Regions from separate parts of the Homo sapiens genome. Here region 2 is linked to region 1. The links are contacts of gene promoters, found by promoter capture Hi-C in blood cells and fetal thymus (Javierre and others, 2016). All regions are on one chromosome and are shown on one strand. The core of a region is centred on a gene start or on the middle of the fragment in contact, and the rest is flanking DNA. Distances in the headings are between cores, read along the strand shown.

Region 1 (5,523 bases), core at 2,217-4,716:
AACCTCTTTACAAGTCACCACCAGGGATTCTCCAATCACACATAGGAAAAATTTCCAGGAAGACTTCTATAAAACACATGTATTAACATCTCCGAAAACATAGTTGAAAGGACTTCCCTGGGCCCTTTTCCTTAGTTCCTCATCTAGACTATCAAGCGGTTTCCTCTCCAAATGATGGGAAGAAAGTGCATTTGTCTATTACACACTTGTATTACTCTATTCACTTAAGCACTGTGTCCCAGTAATGGGGTCTAGTTATGTCTGGCTTGAAATGACCCACATATTTGTTTCTCATTCTTAGGAAGTGGAGTGTTTCTGTATGTGTATATGTGATGGGGGTAGGCCAGGAGATTTTTTATCTAGGCAATACCCAGCCTGAAATCATTATTAGCATGACATGAGTTAAACGTATTTCTATTTTAGAAAGATGTTTTCAACAGCAGGATGAAGAATCAATTGGAAGAGCTGGTACATTGAAAGAGGTGAATCTAGACTTTGGGAGGCTTCTTAAAGTATATTGAACTAGTCTAGGCCGTGGGATATGTTCAATAGTAATGGTAGTAGAAATGGCGACTGACATTTTGGAATTATTTTACAGATACAATTTCTACAACTTGGTGGAACATTTTTTAAAATGTAGGTTTTATTATTCGGCTATGGTGAAAACAACAGATCAGAAGATGATGCCACTGGAAATATAGTTTGTTGTTTACAGTTCCTAAGAAGCGGGGGCATGCCACACCATGCAGGGCCACATTGGTAGCACCAGAGTCCGTCAGGAGGCAGAGGGAGCAAGAGGAAATTATAGGCACAAGCTTTTATTGTTGTTACTGCAGAAAAGGCAAGGCAAGGCAGGGTAAGCAGGGATAGGACTGGCTAGTTTGAATAACCTCAGTGGGCTCTGGGGTAGAGGGTCTGTCTCTAGTTGTCTGGTACCTGGACCTGTGATGATTAGGGCTGAATAACGGTGTCTACTTGGGTGTAAAAGCCAGGTAGAGGAGGTGGTTCAGAGGAAGGGCTCTGGATTGCTTAGTGTGCATAAGGCATGCTCCAGAGCAAATCTTTTGCTATTTTTTAGAACTAACTAGCCCTGGTAAGTGCAGTCTCTTCCCAGATGCCAGAACATCAAGAACACAGAAAAGAAGACAATTGGGTTAATACATGTTTAGCATGAGAAATGAGGAAGTAAGGGAAATAAAGTCAAAGAGATTTCCACCTTGGATGACTATGTCAAAGTGAAACACCATTAACTTTCCAGGGAACTAAACTTTATTGAGCACCTACTCTGTGTCAGGCACTGCTCTAAAATCTTTACATGAATAATCTCAATACTCAGAGCAAAGCTTTGACATGGAGGTTGTTTTTATCTTAACTCTACTGGTGTGTTGATGGAGTCTACAAGAGTTTGTGCCCAGTCCACCACAAAATGGTCCCTCACAGCTTGGTTTTTGACACGTTGGATTGGAAGTGCTTGGAGGATATTACAGTAGAACTATCTAGGACTTAGCATGCATAATATTCCTGTTTTAAATCAGGTTCTTATTTAACAGAAACTTACATTGCACTTGCTACTTTCCAGACACTGTCCTAAAAGCTTTACAAATGCCAGTTCATTTAATCCCAATACAATACTTTGAGATACATATTATCATCTTCATTCTATCCACATTTTCAATCCTCATCATAGCTCTCATTTATGGAATGTAATGATGATGCTCTAGACTAGACGTTTTACGTAAGTTAGCTTAATTCAGTAATTCAAAACACATGCGATTATCTTCGTTTTAAAGACCAGAAAACTAAAGGTTGGTAGGTTTGTATAATTTGACTACCATTGCGTATCTTTATTTTAATACATTTTATAAATGCAAGCTTCTGCTATGATTAAAAGTGATTACCACATTTTACAGACCAGAAAGTAATAATAAGTGTTGGTGAAGATGTGAAAAAATGAGAACTCCTGTACACCATTTGTGGGAATGTAAAATGGTACAGATGCTGTGGAGAATCATATGGTGGGTGCTCAAAAAATTAAAAATAGATTTACCACATGATCCAGCAATCTCACTTCTGAGTACGTATCCAAAAGAATTGAAAACAGAGACTTTAAGAGATATTTGTACAACCATGTTTATGGCAGCATTATTCACAATAGCTAACGTGTGGCAACAATGCAAGTGTCCATGAACAGACAAATGGATAAGCAAAATGTGGTCTATACATACAATGGAATATTGTTCAGCTTTAAAAAGGAAGGAGGCTTTGATCTATACTACACAGAAAAGAACCTTGAGGACATTATGCAAAGTGAAATAAGCCAGTGACAAAAAGATACATACTGTATGATTCCACTTCTAAGAGCTGCCTAGAGTAGTCAAGATTATAGAGACAAAAGTAGTGCATAGATTCAAGGGCCTAGGGAAAGGGGAAATGGGGAGTTATTTATTAATGAATAGTGGTGATGATTGTACAAAAATATGAACATAATTAATGCCACTAAATTGTACACATACAAATGGTCAAGATAATAAATTTTATGTTATGTCATGTTATGTTATGTGATTTTACCATAATACAGAAAATGAAAAAAGAAAAGAAAGAAAGTAAAGCTTAGCGGTTTACATGACTTGACCAATGCCTCAAAGCCATGAGTCACCCAGCTGAGATCTGAACTTCAGTATATTCCATTCTGAAATCCCAGACTTTTCCCAATCTTCTTGTACTTTTCAAACTGTGTTTCAGTTGAGGTTTATTTTCAGTTTTGTATGTGAGTTTCTTCACAAGAAGGGGCGGGCCAAATTGTGTCCTGCAAAAACCTACATATCGAAGTCCTAACCCCTCTACCTCAGACTATGACTGTATATGGAGAGAGAGCCTTGAAAGAGGTATGTAAGGTAGAATGAGGTCATTATGGTGGGCCCTAATCCAACATAACTGGTGTCCTTATAAGAAGGGGAGATTAGAATTCAGACACACTTGCTGACACCTTGAGTTCAGACTGGAAGCCTCTAGAATTGTGAGAAAATGAATGTCTGTTGTTTAAGCCACCCAGTCTGTGGTATTTCCTTATGGCAGCCCCAGCAAACTAATACAAATAGTGTTTCCACAGCTGAAACAAAATTGGAAAATCACCGTCATCCTAGAGAGTTACAAGGGCTATTTTAATAGAACCTGATTGTTTTCCTAAATTCACCAAGCCCAGGCAGAGGTCAGATGACTAATTGGGATAAAAGCCAACTAGCTTCCTCTTGCTGTTTCTTTAGCCACTGGTCTGCAGGCGTTTTCTTCTTCTAACTTCCTCTCCTGTGACAAAAGAGATAACTATTAGAGAAACAAAAGTCCAGAATGCTAAGGTTGCCGCTTTCACTTCCTCTCACCCTTTAGCCCAGAACTGCTTTGAATACACCAATTGCTGTGGGGCGGCTCGAGGAAGAGAAGACACCAGTGCCTCAGAAACTGCTCGGTCAGACGGTGATAGCGAGCCACGCATTCACAGGGCCACTGCTGCTCACAGAAGCAGTGAGGATGATGCCAGGATGATGTCTGCCTCGCGCCTGGCTGGGACTCTGATCCCAGCCATGGCCTTCCTCTCCTGCGTGAGACCAGAAAGCTGGGAGCCCTGCGTGGAGGTATGTGGCTGGAGTCAGCTCCTCTGAACTTTCCCTCACTTCTGCCCAGAACTTCTCACTGTGTGCCCTGGTTTGTTTATTTTTGCAAAAAAAAAAAAGAGTTAAATTACCTTAAAGACTCAAGAAGCCACAGAGATCAAATAATTCATTGTTACAGGGCACTAGAGGCAGCCATTGGGGGTTTGTTCCATTTGGAAATTTTGAGTGCTAACAGGGGCATGAGATAACATAGATCTGCTTAAGGTCCCTGCTCTGCTACCTTGTGGCTCTGTGAAGAAATTATCAAACCTGTCTGAGACTAGTTTTCGCATCTGTAAGAGAATTATAATACCTTCTTCACTAGAGAGTAAGCAGACTGCTTCAGTGTCATTTCTTCCCACTGGTGGTCTTTACACTCAGCTTCAAGCAGTCACCCTGCTCCTTTCAATCTCAGGAAAAAGATGGCTTTTGTGTGTGTGTCTCTAGAGAAAGAACTTTCTAAGTGGGTGTCAGACTTCTGTATGCAGTAATATAGTTTAGTCCAGAGGATGAAAAAAATAAGAGAATGAAAAAGGAAAAGAGAGAGAGAGAGAAGAAAAAAGCAAGAGGGAAATATGTATAATGTCAGCTAATGCAACAGTTTCTTTCTTAGTGAAATACCAATCAGCTGGTTGGTAATCTTATTCATGATGGATCTCTTTTGTTTTTCCCCTGCGCAGACTTCACAGTTGCTTTAGAAACCCATAGTAGAGCCGAACAGCTAAGAAAATGATTTACAGTGAGGCAGGGTCAGAAACTCAAGAGAGAAAAAGCCAGCTGCAGTCCTGAAGTTGAGGATATAGGAGAAAATCAAGTAATATTTAGCAAAGACTAATTCATTATCTTGAAGCCATCCCTTCCCTCAATTCCCTGCCCATAGTCCTCCTCCTTGTCCTCTTCTCTGTATCCCTCTGCTGTTAGGTTAATGGAGATAGATTTTCTAATTAGGCTCACTGCGAGATAAAACCACAGCCAAACTTGACTTCTTTTCCCCATGTACCTTTTCCTGTCAGTCCCTGAAGCCTGTCCATCCCTGCCCATCCCCTTAGTTCCACTGTAAGGCAGGCCCTCATTTCCCCTGGCATTGACTCTTACACACTAACTGCTTTCCTGATTCCAGTCTTCTTCCTTTAATTCATTCTGCACGTTCTTGTTTGTTATGTACTTGCATTTGTTGTTATTATTTTTCCTTAGGCTTCAATCTAACAAATTACTCTCCTTAAAAACTTTTAATAACTCTCCATTGCCATTAGAACAGCTTTCTACCACAGGGCCTTTGCACTGGCTATTTCTTCTACCTAGAATGCTAGATCAGTGCTATCCATTGGCAATATTATGTGAGCCACATATGTACTTTTAAAGTTTTTAGTAGCCTCATTAAAAAAAGAAACAAGTGAATTTAATTTCGATAATAGTTTTATTTAACTTAGCGTATTTAAAATAATGTTTAAAATTTTAATATATATTTACCTATTATTGATATTTTTACATTCCTTGTTTGGTACTAAGTCTGGAATTTAGTATATGTTTTACATTTACCACACTTCTCAATTTACACTATTCACATTTCTTGTGTTTGATAACTGTGTATGGCTAGTGACTACCGTATTGGTCAGTGCAGCCCAAGTCCTTTTCATGCTTTAATCACTCCATTCAGATCTCTGATTAAATGTCCCCTCCTCAGGGCAGTCTTCCTTGATTGCCCCATGTAGAGCTCTCCAGCCTCACTTATTTGCCTCAAATCCCCTTATACTGCTTAATATTTTTTTTTCTAGAGCACAACATTTTATATTTTTGTTTGTTTATTTTCTCTCTCTCCCTTTGTAATGGAATCGGTAAGGAGGCAGGATCATTGCTGGTTTTATTTACCACTATA
Region 2 (5,523 bases), core at 1,462-3,961, 1.6 Mb after region 1:
GTTGAATGGCTACTATATATCGGGCACTTTTTCTGTCTGAGTACATAACAGTGATCAAAATGAACAAAAATCCATGCCTCAATAGAATGTACATTCTGGACTGAAGTTTCCTAAAAGGTGATATGGCTTCTTATGAAAGCCCACATTGTGTGGTATAAATGATCAGTAAATTGAGAAAATAAATTCTTCCCAAGAATATGACATGTTATAAGAATTCTCGGCGGGAAAAGGTGCTAAAATATATGTACTAAGATTATGTTCTGCTCCAAGAATTAGTAAATGGAAAAATCTAGGTTTCTTTTTCCTTTTTTTTTTCTGCAAGCTAAATATTTCTCATTCTCTCTTCTTGTAAATGTCACCTCTAGAATCTTTATGTATGGATAAGGATTATCCTTACGCATGAATAAGGTGAGATATATTTGCATATTAGCAAGACTCTTCTCCATTCTCCTTTGAAAAGTGTTGCAAAAGCACCAGCGATGTACCTAAACTGAGAACCAGTGATAATAAGGGACCCATGAAACAGAAAGGTAGTTGTAGAAAGTTAAAATGAGTAATGAAAGTCACATCAGAAGACTTAGATAGATGCCAATGCTTCATCACTTACCAGGTATATCACACTGGATAAATAATTTATTCACTCAAAGCCTTTGCTACGTCATCTGTAAAATGAGATATTATTACTACCTCATATGAGACATTGTTTTGTGAATTTTAAAGCATTGCATATAGATAGTATATTTGAATAGGAGGTAGAAGAGTGAGAAGAGAAAAGAAAAAAAAGAAAACGAAGAAGATGGAAAAATAAGAGCTATGGAGTATTGTAAATGGAAACTAAAAGCTTTTCCTCTAAGATTCAGTACAAGGCTAGGATGCCCACTCACCACTTCTATTCAGCATAGTATTGGAAGTCTTAGCTGAGTAATTAGACAAGAAAAATTAAATACATAAAAGTAATAAAAGTAATTCAAATAAAAAAAGAAGTAAAATTATCTCTGTTTGCAGATGATATGATGATCATATAGAAAATCCTAAAGACTCAGTAACAACAAAAATGGTACAACTTATAAATAAATTTAATGAAGTTGAAGATACAAAATAAACATACAGAAATCTGTGAACTATCCAAAAATAATGCTAACAATGAAATATCTTAAAAATTATAAAAACAACCCCATTTACAATAGTAAGAAAAAGTATAAAACACTTAGGGATACAGTTAAGAAGTAAAAGACATATATTCTGAAAATTATAAAACGTTGATGAGGCTGGGCACGGTGGCTCATGCCTGTAATCCCAGCACTTTGGGAGGCCGAGGCGGATGAATCATCTGAGGTCAGGGGTTTGAGACCAGCCTGGCCAATATAGTGAAACCCTCTACTAAAGGTACAAAAACTAGCTGGGCGTGTTGGCATATGCCTATAATCCCAGCTACCCAGGAGGCTGAGGCAGGAGAATCGCTTGAAGCTGGAGTTGGGGGTTGCAGTGAGCCGAGATCATACCACTGCACTCCAGCCTTGGCAACAGAGATGAAACTTCATTTCCAAAACAACAACAACGACAAAACACATTGATGAAGGAAATTTAAAAAGACACAGAAAGGCTGGGTGCGGTGGCTTACACCTGTAATCCCAGCACTTTGGAAGGCTGAGATGGGCAGATCACCTGGGGTCAGGAGTTTGAGACTAGCCTGGCCAACATAGTAAAACCCCATCTCTACTAAAAATACAAAAATTAGCCAGATGTGTCTGTATTCTCAGCTACTTAGGAGTCTGAGGTAGGAGAATCACTTGAACCCAGGAGGTGGAGGTTGCAGTGAGCCGAGATCACACCACTGCACTCTAGCCTGAGCAACAGAGTGACACTACGTTAAAAAAAAAAAAAAAAAAGACACACATAAATGGAAAGGTAGCACGTGTTCATGAATTGGATTAATAATGTTAAAATGTCCATAATACCCAGCTGATCTACATATCCAATGCAATCTCTATCAAATTTTGCATTCTTTATAGAAATAGAAAAAAAAAACTTAAAATATGTGTGGAACTACAAAAGACCCCAAATAGCCAAAGAAATCTTATACAGGAACAAAGACGAATGCATCCCACTTCTCGATTTTAAAATATACTGGCATGTATCACTTAATGATAGGAATGCATTATTTTTTATTATTTTTAATTTTTTTTTAATTATTTATTTTTTGAGACTGGGTTATGAGACTGGCTAATTTTTGCATTTTTGGTAGAGGCGGGGTTTCATTTATGTTGCCTAGGCTGGTCTCAAACTGCTGGCCTCAAGCAATCCATCCACCTCAGACTCTGAAAGTGGACAGGAATACATTCTGAGAAATACATCAGTAGATGATTTTGTCATTGTACAAACATCACAGAGTATACTTGCACCAACCTAGATGATATATCCTACTACACACCTAGGCTCTATAGCATAGCCTATTGCTCTTAGGCTACAAATCTGTACAAGATGTTACTTTACTGACTACTGTAAGCAATTGTAATACAATGGTAAATATTCATGTATCAAATATATCTGAACATAGAAAAGGCACAGTAAAAATATGGTATTATAATCATATAGGAACACTGTCATATACACAGTGTGTTGTTGACTGAAACATCATCATGCAGTGTGTCACTGCATTACAAAGCTACAGTATTCAAAACAGTATGGTACTGGCATAAAAATGAACATACAGACAAAATTGAACAGAATAGAGAGACCAGAAATAAACCTGGGCATGTATTGTCAATTCGTCTTCAACAAGGGTTCCAACCACACACAATGAGGAAAAGGTTCTCTCTTCAATAAATGTTGTTAGAAAAACAAGACACCCACATGCAAAAGGAGGAAATTGCACCTTTATCTCAGACCATATACAATAATCAACTCAAAATGAATTAAGAACTTAAAGGTAAAACCAGGAACCATAAAAACACTAGAAGAAAACAGAGATAAACCTTCTTAACATTGGTCTGGGCAATGATTCCTTTGGATATGACCCTAAAAGCACAGGAAACCAAAGCAAAAATAGACAAGTGGGATTCCATCTAACTAAGCAGTATCTGTATATCAAAAGAAACAATCAACAGAGAGAAAAAGCAACCTATGGAATGGGAGAAAATATCTGCAAACCATATATCTAATGAGTGGTTAATTTTCAAAATATATAAAGCATTCAAATAAATGAACAGCAAAAGAAAGAAATAACTCGATGTAAAAATGGGCTAAGGACCTGAATAGGCATTTTTCTCAAGAAGACATACAAATGGCCAACAGGTACACAAAAACATACTCAATATCACTAATCATCAGGAAAATGTAAATCAAAACCACAATGAGCTATTACCTTGCACGTGTTAGAATAGGTATTATAAAATTTTGAAAAATAACGTGTTAGCAAGAATGTGGATGGGAATGCAAATTTATACAGCCATTTTGGAAAACAAACAGTATGGAAGTTCTTCAAAAAATTACAACTAGAACTAATATATGATCCAGCAATCCCACTTATAGGTATTTATCCAAAGGAAATGAGATTAGTATGTTGAAGAGCTATCTGCATTCTCATGTCCATTGCAGAGTTTCTCACAATAACCAAAATATGGAATCCACATAAATGTCCATCAACAGATGAATGGACACACACACTCACCCACACACAAAGTGAAACATTATTCAACCTTTAAAAAGAAAGAAATCCTGCCATTTGTAACATGTATGGGCCTGGAGGACATTATGCTAAATGAAATATGCCAGGCACAGAAAGACAAATACTGCATGATTTCACTTGTATGTGGAATCTAAAAGGATCAAACTTACAGAAGCAGAGAGTAGAATGATGGTTGCCAGAAATAGGGGGAAGGGAGAAATGGGGAGAGTTTGGTCAAAGGGTACGAACGAAGTTTCTGTTATGCCAAATAAGTAAGTTCTGGAGAGCTAATATACAGCATGGTGACTATAGTTAAAAATGCTATATTATATTCTTGAAATTTGCTAAGAGAATAATCTTAAGTGTTCTCATCACAAAAAAAGAGACGGAAAATAGTTACTGTGTGGGTGATGGACACCTTAATTAGCTTGATTGTGGGGGTAATTTCACAATGTATACATATGTCAAAACATCTAGTTGCATACCTTAAGTGTATACAATTCCTATTCATCAATTATACTTCAATAAAACTTAAAAAGAAAAGAAATGGATAGTATTTTAGCAATTATTTTGTCCAAAACATGAATATTATAGAGGGAATTGAGGCTCAGGGTTATAATATGCTCAGGTCACAAGGTGGATGATACAGTGTTGAGGACAGAGGAGGACACGGGCTCCTTGGTTCCCAAGGCTGCGCTCCCTTCACCTTCTCAGCGCCCTGTATAGCCAGTGGTAACGAGCACAGACTGTGGAACCAGATTGCCTGGGTTCAAATCAGAGTTGTGTGACTTCCCAGCTGTGTGACCCTGGCCATATTACTTTTCTGAGCCTCAATTTCCTCATCTGTAAAATGGGTTAAAGGCTACAGCTGTCACAAGGGTTGCACTCAAGTATAAATGACTTAATAGAGCTATATAAGCTTTAGCTAATAATACCATATTCTGTATCATATCACACAAGTTTATTCGTTCCATTCTTTTTGTTTTATTTTTCAACTTCCTTCTTGGTTCTGAAATGAACCCTAACAGGATTCTATTTTGGACTTTCTCCCATTATCCTGCTCATTTAGGTTCAACTGGCAGCATCAGGGCTGGGCTAATTATACGGTAAGACAATTCTGCCTCCTGAAACCCCTGGTCTTTAGTATTATTTTCCTTTCCCTTTCTAATAATTAATAATAATAATAAAATAATAACAAATGCAGGTTGAGCTGAAACAGAGAAAGAACTTTGTTCTGTCTGCAGGAACTGCAATGCAACCTCCATTTTTCTCTTGCTGACAAGCATCCGGGCCTGGGTGCCCCAGTGCCTTTTCGTAAATCAAAAGAATATTGAACTCATTATATTGAAGCACAAGTTATCCTTTCATCAGTCAATTTGTCTGGGTCAACTATTCTCGCACATTTATTCTGGACATCTAAAAGATAGGACATCTAACAGTCCGTCTCCAATATTACAACTGCTGCTCATTTTGTTATCCTAAAGTGATAGTCTGAAATCAGACCATTTGAATGCAATTATTAGGTACCAAAGCACTATCTTCCATCAGAGCAGGGAAAGGAATCCAAAGTCCGTCCCTCATGCCTGTAAACAGGAACAATAGGGCCCATATTTACATGACAGTGCATGGTTTACCAAGCACATTTACTTTCAGTTCCTCTTTTGAGTATTACATTCTACAGCTCTGTTGGGGGCTGGGGGGCAGGTAAAGATAAATTCCTCTTTAAGGAGAAGGAATTTGAGGCTCAGATCACTACTCAAAGATCTAATATAGAATGAAACAAGACTTGAATGCTTAAATTCTTTTACAGATTGAGATTTCCCCCACCCCTCCCCTTCTTCCTTGTGTTCAATAAC

The links. The method cuts DNA at HindIII sites, captures the fragments that hold promoters and counts their contacts. A CHiCAGO score of 5 or more calls a contact.
Region 2: a fragment that was not itself captured here is called in contact with the fragment with the promoter of TLR4 in region 1 in 2 of 17 cell types (M1 macrophages and M0 macrophages); the score reaches 7.4 in M1 macrophages.

Annotation. Positions count from the first base shown.
Region 1 is chr9:117,700,937-117,706,459 of GRCh38, forward strand. TLR4 (toll like receptor 4) reads left to right here and starts at 3,467. Exons shown (of 3, transcript NM_138554.5): 1 at 3,467-3,629. The coding sequence starts at 3,537. RefSeq lists enhancers at 2,889-4,088, 3,036-3,536, 3,437-3,486, 3,497-3,566, 3,537-4,037 and 1 more. The HindIII fragment of the contact is 5,259 bases long and covers 2,608-5,523 here.
Region 2 is chr9:119,292,983-119,298,505 of GRCh38, forward strand. All of the region lies in intron 2 of BRINP1 (BMP/retinoic acid inducible neural specific 1), which reads right to left. Among named protein-coding and RNA genes, the nearest start is that of BRINP1, 74 kb to the right of the region's middle. RefSeq lists enhancers at 4,870-5,399, 5,400-5,523. The HindIII fragment of the contact is 3,745 bases long and covers 840-4,584 here.